Linked DNA regions of Homo sapiens: all the other regions are linked to region 3. The links are contacts of gene promoters, found by promoter capture Hi-C in blood cells and fetal thymus (Javierre and others, 2016). All regions are on one chromosome and are shown on one strand. Each heading gives the region's core, a stretch centred on a gene start or on the middle of the fragment in contact. The rest is flanking DNA. Distances are from core to core; before and after follow the strand shown. Region 1 overlaps DENND1B (DENN domain containing 1B). Region 2 overlaps DENND1B (DENN domain containing 1B). Region 3 holds the start of C1orf53 (chromosome 1 open reading frame 53).

Region 1 (3,204 bases), core at 583-3,082, 240 kb before region 3:
CAAATCAGCACATCATAGTTTCTGCATTCACTATAACTCAAAGAAATAGTTTTCATGGCAAATTTCCTTCCACCAAGACACATAATCCTTAGTTAGAGCCTAATTGCTTTCATTTGTAGTCATTTCAAACTCACATTTCAACTTTTAATAGCCTGAAGAAATTGCTATTTCCAGACAATTTCAATGTGTCATGTAGTTCAGACCTAAAAATTCAGATGAGACCTAATCTATTCAAAGAACATGCTGGTCTGTTTCTATCCAACTCTCAAGGAGCTTTAGATAAAGCAAAATGTATTGATTGTAGGTGGCTGCATGTCTACCTGTTAATGCTTACATTGTCATTTTCACCTTATTTAAATAAAGTGAGGCCTTTGGTAACCTTAATTTTTCTTTCATGGTCTACTATAAAAACTATATACATAACAATAATTATGTTATTAGAAAGTGAGATAATGTTTTTCATTCTAGACCAAAAACCCTTAACATTTCTTTCAATGTTCTGGTTTTCTGAACTTTATATTATTGTTTTTCACTGGTTATCTTCCCCTTTTAATTTCCTTTCAAATTGCAAAGGCACATCAGAATCAGATTTTTCATTAAGAAGCTAATTTATACAGATAAATATAATTTATCTGTAAGACTATATCCTTGTCTTTGAATAAATAATTAATATATCCATATTTAAGTTACTTTTAAAAATTTAAACAGTTTTTATTTGTGCTAGGCATTTTGGTATCTACGTAATTATTACTGTTTTTTACATGTCCAAGATAATAAGCTTTATTGAATTTCATCCTGGTACCAGGCTATGACTTCATCTATAAATCAAACTATGACTTCATCTATAAATTAAACTAACACTGTTTAGAAATAAGCTTTACCCTTATGGGATATTTCTCATAGTCATCTCTAAGGCCCCAAAATACTTTATTATTTCTATTTGGGGAGTATAACTCACTAGTTAGTTATACGTCCATCTAGGGGTTGAGAGCAGAATCTAAGAATCATAGAATTTATGTGTTAAAACAATTGGAAGTGCAGGAAGTAAAATTACTTAAGGAGTAACTATATGAATGACAGTACATTGGATACTTATATGTATTATCTCATTTAATTCTTACACTAATGCTTTGATACATACTTGACTAAGATAAAGCAACTTATCTAGGGTCACAAAGCTATGGAATGGCAATCTTGGGATTAGAACCCTAATCAACCTGAGTAATATATGCTCAGGGGTCTACCACAGACAGTCTATCACCCTATCTTGGCGTGTATTTCTATATAGCGAGCCTTTTTTAAAAAATATATACTTTAAGTTCTAGGGTACACGTGCACAATGTGCAGGTTTGTTACATGTGTGTGTATACATGTGCCATGTTGGTGTGCTGCACCCATTAACTTGTCATTTACTTTAAGTATATCTGCTAATGTACAGTGAGCCTTTTAATAAACATGTTCAATGACCAGGCATTTCAGGCAGCTAAATGAACTGAGACAAAAATCATTCTGTTGTAATCTTAAAACAGCCTGCCTATATGTCCTATCCACTGAAGCAAATTCTATCTTCTAAAATTCATTTGTTTATTTAACATTCAGAGCATTACCTTTATGACTTTTAAATTATAGTTTGTTCATAGGGGCAAATTTCCCAACAAATAAAGGTCTATTCAATGTGATTCTTTAAAGTAACATTTTGGTAAACCCTTCCAATTTTAAGTTTGGTATTGCTTCTGTGTTCATCACTGTGGATAAAAATTTTGAAAAGGATATGGCCTGCAAAAGTCTTCAAGATGCCTCCCAAAATAACACCAATTATTTATCAACATTCTAAGTATGAAATTTTAACCTAATCAAAAGACTCATAATTGTATCATCTAACCAACACTTTTCTCTGCACATAATTTGTTTGTGAAATATTAGAACAGACTCAAATTTCAACTACAGCACTCCCTGTTACATCAGTATGTACTATCACCATAATAAACCAAGCCTAGTTATAAACAATGCTCTCTTTGTAAACATGTACTGGCTCTCAGTGATAACTTTCTCCTTTTAAAGAGTACATATCATTCATTTTTTAAATAAAAACATCACATATAAAAGTGGAACTACTCTATAACGTAGCCATTGCTCCTAGAAACGTCAAGAAAGCAAGGACATTTTCTGTTGTAAATAAACAAGCATCTACAGCAAACAGTGCTAACTGGCTATTTGCAGGCTGCTTCTATCCTAAGGGCATATTTTGTTTGGTCAACACTGTACTGTTGTTTAATTAAATAAGTTGCCAACTTCCAAATCTGATATAATTCACTGTAAAAATCCAGACTTCTTGTTTCTCTTAAAAGTCAAAAGAACTGGTAATACTGGCCACACATTTTTCACTGTGCAACAAATTCCTAGGGCTGAGTTGTGGCTTCTGTCTTTGAGTGTGGCATGTACTATTCAGATCACCGTACTTACCCCAACTTCCTATTGTTAGGCACCTAACAGGTTTCTCTCATTTGAGCCCCTTACCTGGTCTACATAGGTAATTGAATTCACAACTCCTGATAAGAAGCAACTGCTCAACAGGAAATCCTACCGACTACTCACTTTCTTATCTGACAAGAAAATGATCCAGGGTATACAAAGTAGTCCAGTAATTCCAATTTTAACTATACTCTAAGTACACTTTAAGTCTAAATATATGGCAAAAACAACATCATTTTTAAAAAGAAAACTTTTGAAACACACACATACACACACACACACACACAGAGAGAGAGATAAAAAATACTGTAAATTATATAAGCTTATGTTGCTAGAGTAAGAAATGTTATTTTCAAGTCTTTATTTTGTGGTTTCTTAGGGAATTTTCAAACGATACATGCTCAAAGCAACTAATTTTAAACTGATTATCAATAAGGTAAAATGTTAAAATGTTTTTCACTAAATTTTACAGTCCCAAAGACAGTCAAAGTCTGTATTCTTACAACAGACCACAAAAATCCTAGGAAGTTAAAAAAAATTACTCGACATATTGTAACAAGTGAATAAGACACTTCACTTGAATTTTTAAAATTGAACAAAGAATAACTGTGACTCTCGCACTCTTGCCAACATATATAAATGTAAAACATTATGAGCAATTATTTTAAAACAAAGTACAGGAGATTAGTTAAAATTTAATTGTAAGATCATTTCCTTAATTTTCTGTAAAGA
Region 2 (3,316 bases), core at 815-3,314, 210 kb before region 3:
TTTCACACTGCTGATAAAGACATACCTGAGACTGGGTAATTTATAAAGAAAAGGAGGTTTAATGGACTCACAGTCCCATATGGCTGGGGAGGTCTCATAATCATGTTAGAAGGCGAGGGAGGAACAAAGTCATGTCTTACATGGCAGCAGGCAAAGAGAGAAAGAGAATAAAGTGAAAGGAGAACCTGTTATAAAACCATCAAATCTCGTGAGACTTACTCACTACCATGAACACAGTATGGGGGAGACTGCCCCCACAATTCAATTATCTCTCACCAGGTCCCTCCCACAACATGTGGGAATTATGGGAGGTACAACTCAAGATGAGATTTGGGTGGAGACACAGAGACAAATCATGTCAATATCAAATTGACTGTGCTATCCTTACTGTTGCTGCTGGTGCTGATGAATCTGAACTTGGTATCTCCAAGAATGAGCAGACTCATGAGCATATCCCTCTGGCTTCCACATTGATTGTAAAACAACCAACTGTTCATGTTAACAAAACAGATTCCACCGAGTCACCCTACAGCCAGAAGAGATATGAGAAAATCATTAAGGAAATCAGCACCCATATTAAGAAAACTGGCTACGGACCTGCTACAGTAGCATTTGTGCCAATTTCTTTTTTATTTTAATCCATCCTTTATTAATTCAACAAAACTTAAGGAGTCTATTACCTACCAGGCACTATGCTTGGCACTGAGGTGCAGCAGTGAACAAGAAACAGTCCCTGCCATCAATGTTAGAATGGTGACAATATGCTGGAGTCAAGTGCTAACATACCTTGGCTCAAGAGATGGAAAGACACCTGTAAAGATGGCGATACCAGTGAAACCATGCTGCTTAAAGCTCTGAATTGCATCCTACCATCAATTCATTCAGTTGACAAGCTCTTGTGTCTGCCCCTACCTGATGTCTACAAATTGGTGATATTGGCATTGTCCCTTTGGGGCTAGTGGAGACTGCTATTCTCAAACCCAGCATGTGGTCTACTTTTGCACCAGTTAACACTACAACTGAAGTAGAGTCTGTTGAAATGCACCAAAAAGCTTTGAGTGAAGCTCTTCCTAAGGATAATGTGGGCTTCGATGTCAAGAATGTGTCTGTCAAAGATACTCGTCATGGCAATGTTGCTGGTGACAGCAAAAATGACTCACCAATGGAAGCAGCTGACTGCACTGCTCACATGATTATCTTGAGCCAACCAGGCCAAATAGGTTCTGGTTATCCTCCTATACTTGACTGTCACACAGCTTATGTTGCTTGCAAGTTTGCTTGATTGAAGCAAGATTGATTGCCACTCTGGTAAGAAGCTGGAAGGTGACCCTAAATTCTTGAAATCTAGTGATGCTGCCATCGTTCAGATGGTTGCTGGAGTGTTGAGAGCTTCTCTGACCATCTCCCTCTTGGTCATTTTACTGTTCATAATATGAGACAGACAGTTGCTGTGGGTGTCTTCAAAGCAGTGGACAAGAGGGCTGCTAGAGTTGGGAAGGTCAGCAAGTCTGCCTGGAAAGTTCAGGAGGCTAAATGAATATTATCCCTAATACCTGCACCCTAGTTTTATTCAGTGGTTGAAGAACAGTCCCAGAAGTATTTGCCTGAATAGGCCATTTTAAGTTTAATAGTAAAAAACTGATTAATGATAGCAATGCATTATAAAACCTTCCGAAGGAAAGGAGAACATTTTATGGAACATTTTTGGGTTTTTTTTGTGTGAGAGTTCTTAAGTTGTTAGTCTTTAAAATAATTACTTCTTAATGGAAATAACCTGACCAAAAAAAAATCTGTCATAGAACTTTGAAACCCATTAAAATATATTTTAATGAAAAAAATAGACTTAAACATAAGACGTGAAAAGTGTAAAGCTCTTAGAAGAAAACATGGAAAAACTTTCATGACATTGGTCTTCGCAATAATTTCTTGGCTACAACACCAATCATGGATATATGATACGGATGTTTATAAACATATGCACAGGCAACTAAGGCAAAAATAGACAAGTGGAATTACATCAAACTAAAAATCTTCTGCACCTCAAAGAAAACATCCTGAAGAGTGAAAGGCAACCTATAACATCTAAGAAAATATTTGCAAACCATACATATGATAAAGGGTTACTATCCAAAGCATATAAGGAACTCCTATAACTTAACAGCAAAAAAAAAAAAAAAGACCTGATCAAAAATTGATCAAAGGACTTAAACAGACATTTCTCCAAAGAAGTCATACGAATGGCTAAGAGTTATATGAAAACATGCTCAACATCACTAATTATGAAGGAAATGCAAATCACAGTTGGATATCATTTCACACCTGTGAGAATGCCCATTATCAACAACCAAATAAACAAACAAACAAAGATAAGTGTTGGAGAGAGTGTAGAAAATTGGCACCCTTGTATACTGTTGGTGGGAATATCAAATGCTACAGCAGCTATGGAAAACAGTTTCCCAAAAAATTAAAAATAGAACTACCACATGATCCAGCATTCCCACTCCTGGGTATTTATCCAAAATAACTGAAATCAGGATCATAAAGGGATATTTGCTCTTCCATGTTCTCTGTAGCATTACTCAGAATAGCAAAGATGTGGAAACATCCTACATGTCCATCAACAGATGAATGGATAGTGAAAATGTGTTATATACATACAATGGAAAATTACTCAGCCTTAAAAAAAGAAAGAAAATCCTGTCATTTGCCACAACATGAATGAATCTGGAGAACATTACACTAAGTGAAATAAGCCAGTCTCAAAAAGACAAATACTGCATGATTCCACTTAAATGAGACATCAAAAATAGTCAAACTCACAGAAGCAGAAAGTAGAATGCTGGTTGCCAGCCAGGGTCCGTGAGTAGAGAGAAATGGCAAGTTGCTGTTCAACAGGTACAAAGTTCAGTTATATAACATGAATAAGTTCTAGAGGTCTGATATACAACACTGTGCTTATAGTTAACAATACTGTACCATAAACTTAACAATTTGTTTATAGAGTAGATCTCATGTATCTGTGCCTCCACAATAAAAAAAAAAAAATCTCAAATCCATTCCCTTTCCCACTTTCTCTTTAAGCTTTCTCTAGTTGAGGTTCTCAACAGTTCTACTAAACAATTACCGTAGCCTTCTAACTAGTCTCTATGTCTCCAACAGGCTCCTTTTATCCAATTCAAAGCACCTAAATCTAAAGTTACCTCTTTAAAATATAGATGTGATGTGGAAGCCTCCTAAATATATACCATTTTATGGTTATTTCCTATTAGTCAATGCCAAAGCAGTTAGCATAGTATACAAAGTTCTTCATAATCTG
Region 3 (2,963 bases), core at 219-2,718:
ACTTCCACCCTCTCATCTTCACCAAAAGAAGTTTCATGTAACAATATGTACTCTTGTACATATGTATCTATATAAGATATGTATCTATATAAGATAGTTCCATTTATTTTCTATTTAAATCTGGTCTAGTCTATTTCATTCCTGTAAAATGCTGTCTCTACCCTTTGAATCGATGTCATGGCCTATTAGTGGATCCTGATCCTTAATTTTAAAGACAATGCAGTAAATCAATCTCAGGTTTTTGTTGGTGCGGGGACCTGACTTATGGTGAATGTGAATAACATCACAGTTGTTCATTTTTGGTGATCTCATGTTTGGTCCCACTCTTCCACAGCTTTCTCTAGGGTCCCTCCTTCGCTTTCCAGATTTTAAACTCTCCTCAGATTACTTAACAGTCTCCAGATCCTAATTTTTTATTCCAACAAAAAGAAAATCAATTTGCAAAATATAATACCAATTTATTAATTCACTGAGATTTTTAATGAACCAATAGGGTTGTTTCAATCACCTCCTACTAAGATTTAAGAAAATGAAAATATGACTACAGGGTTGCATGGTAAACACAGAAACCAAAAAACACGTAGTGATGGTCTATAGTGGCTTAGTCGCCTTTCTCCTGTACAACTGAATAATCTACTTTTGTCCTCAAAGATCAATTCCTGCCCTCCCAGTATTGAAGAGCACTAACAAAATTGGTACTCTTCAGCCCTCCTTTTCTTGAAACCCAGACGGGGGGTAGGAAGATGGGGTGGTGTTAATTTAATCCTAACACCTGAAATTACTTCCCGGGCTTGCCGTAATTTTCTCAAATACAATTATGTGACGGTATCAAGATCACTTTCATCCATCAGAAAGGAGATAATAGTTTTAGGTTGGATTTTGTAAATATTCAGCAACATGAACACAACACCTTTTCTTATTCAGTGTGCGATTTTACTTTTGGCCCTTATTCTAGGGTGGGCCAAAGAACCAAGCAAAGAAGGCTCCGCTTCCACCTTTATTCCTATCACATACTACCTGGAAACACTCAGCCTTTTCTGGATAGGCCCAAGGTGGTTATTCACAAACCTCGGGTCTTTTGATCACTTTCTGGGATCTTAACAGTTGTGGAGATTATACTGAATGATCCCAAGTCCAGTCTGACATAACAAAAAATGTCCACCTTTCAGCTGGGTGGGCGCGGGGGAAGAAGGAAGAGCTTAGAATTTAAGTCCAAAGATGTGGAAACACCAGGCTCTTCCCCGTCCAGGCAGCTCATCAGAGCCTCGTTAGCTGCCTTAAAAGCCCATTTTATTTCCGCAGCGGGCCCGCTGGTGAAGGCAGAAGGCTCAGTCCGTCCGCCTCCACCTGCTGCCACGGCAGCGCGAACCGACCCCACGCAGCGATGGCCACGAGCTGCCCAAGACCGGCTCGCCGCGCCCAGGCCCGCGTTGGTCGCCCCTCCGGGCCCCAGCGCCGGGTGCTCCGCCTCCCAAGGCCGGCGGCGGCATGGCGGCCAGGCAGATCTGGGCACGGACGGGTGCCGCGCTCTGCAGGCAACCTTCCGCCGCCCCGCCGCCAGCACCTCTCTGGGTAAGAGCTGGGTTCCGACAGCAGCTCAGCTTAACCCTCTGCCCTGCTAACGAGGGAAACTGCGGCGGCTCCGCGCCCAGCACGCCCGGTAGGCCGGAGAGAGCGGCGAGGCCTTCGGTGAGCGAAGAGTTAACCGCGGCGGAGCGACAGATCGCGGAGCTGCACGCTGCCGCCTGCGCGGTGAGACTCCCTCCTGCCCGCCCCGCCCCGCCGCGGCCGCCCCGGGCTCGGCGCGCCTGCGCATCCCGGGCCTCTCCGGACCCGGAGGCCGCCCGGCAGAGGCAAAGGTTGCTGGATACCGGTGCGGTCCTGCCTCGGGCGACATTCGCGCACGCACACGAACTTCCAGCCCCGACATTTTCGCGGGAAACCTGTGTCTGTCTTGAGTATGAGTGTGATTTGTTTTCCGATCAGCGTCCGAGCTAAACTCCGGTCGCAGTGTGGGACCCACTACCACTCTTTTGTGGTGTATGTGTGTGTGTGTTGCGGAAGGGGGTGTTAAGGAATTGATGGAGAAGGTGGAGGGACTGAGAAGTCACAACAAAAATGTGTTGTGTGTTTTTCTGCATTGTCAGTTGAACACTTAGCAATCCAGTGATTCTTAGAGTGAGAAAAAAAGACATTGACACATTTATTTTAATTTTTCCATTGCCTTCTTGTCCTTTCTCTTAACTCTTAACGGAGCAGAGGGAACTACAATCTGGCATTTGTAGACACTCAGCTGTTTTCTCCTGTTTTGCGGATTTGACAATTGTCTGTTAGTACCAGTATCTAAACTTCTCTCCCTTTACGCCTTCTAACACAGTCTGCGTGAGTTTAAAGGCAGCATGGTTACCTTTACAAAAGAAACAGTGAGAAAAAAAGAGAAACTGACTATAATAAAGATAGAAAAGCAGTATGAAATGAACCCATTTAATAAGCTATGTGTGTGTGCCTCCAGTACTTGATGGGACTAATATTATATGGTATGACTTGAGCCAAAGGGGTAGAGAAGAAAATCCCGGAGGTTGCCTAAAATTGACTTATTTAAATAATGACAGTTAGTAGGCCCTGAGAATCCACTGTCGGTCTGACCCATTCAAGTGCTGAAACTGAATAAAGACTCATTAGGAAGTGACTGGCAGCTTTTGATTGTTCTTGTTTATGCTCTCCTTTTAAAAATAATGTATATAATTTGTTCTCATACTTCGCAATATAGATATGGTGGATATTAAAGAAAAGTGTCATTCTCCTTAGAGCAAACACCAGTATCATGTGAAGAAATTTTCAATCAGTCTAGGGAAGGAAAGGAACTTTTTCTCACTCGGGAAATTCACATTTGTTTCATCAGTGTCAGTATCACAGGTTAAATGACTATCCAGGTGACCATAAGTAAGCCCAGTAAATAACAA

Evidence for each region. The method cuts DNA at HindIII sites, captures the fragments that hold promoters and counts their contacts. A CHiCAGO score of 5 or more calls a contact.
Region 1: a fragment that was not itself captured here is called in contact with the fragment with the promoter of C1orf53 in region 3 in 1 of 17 cell types (M1 macrophages); the score reaches 6.0 in M1 macrophages.
Region 2: a contact is called between a fragment that was not itself captured here and the fragment with the promoter of C1orf53 in region 3, in 2 of 17 cell types (M1 macrophages and M0 macrophages). The highest score is 6.5, in M1 macrophages.

Annotation. Positions count from the first base shown.
Region 1 is chr1:197,661,271-197,664,474 of GRCh38, forward strand. The region is part of intron 5 of DENND1B (DENN domain containing 1B); the gene reads right to left. Among named protein-coding and RNA genes, the nearest start is that of DENND1B, 110 kb to the right of the region's middle. The HindIII fragment of the contact is 1,919 bases long and covers 874-2,792 here.
Region 2 is chr1:197,689,099-197,692,414 of GRCh38, forward strand. The region is part of intron 3 of DENND1B (DENN domain containing 1B); the gene reads right to left. It also overlaps the pseudogene EEF1A1P32. Among named protein-coding and RNA genes, the nearest start is that of DENND1B, 85 kb to the right of the region's middle. The HindIII fragment of the contact is 2,029 bases long and covers 1,051-3,079 here.
Region 3 is chr1:197,901,162-197,904,124 of GRCh38, forward strand. It overlaps C1orf53 (chromosome 1 open reading frame 53), which reads left to right and starts at 1,469. Exons shown (of 3, transcript NM_001024594.3): 1 at 1,469-1,752. The coding sequence starts at 1,489. RefSeq lists silencers at 1,354-1,503, 1,674-1,923. The HindIII fragment of the contact is 7,446 bases long and covers 1-2,963 here.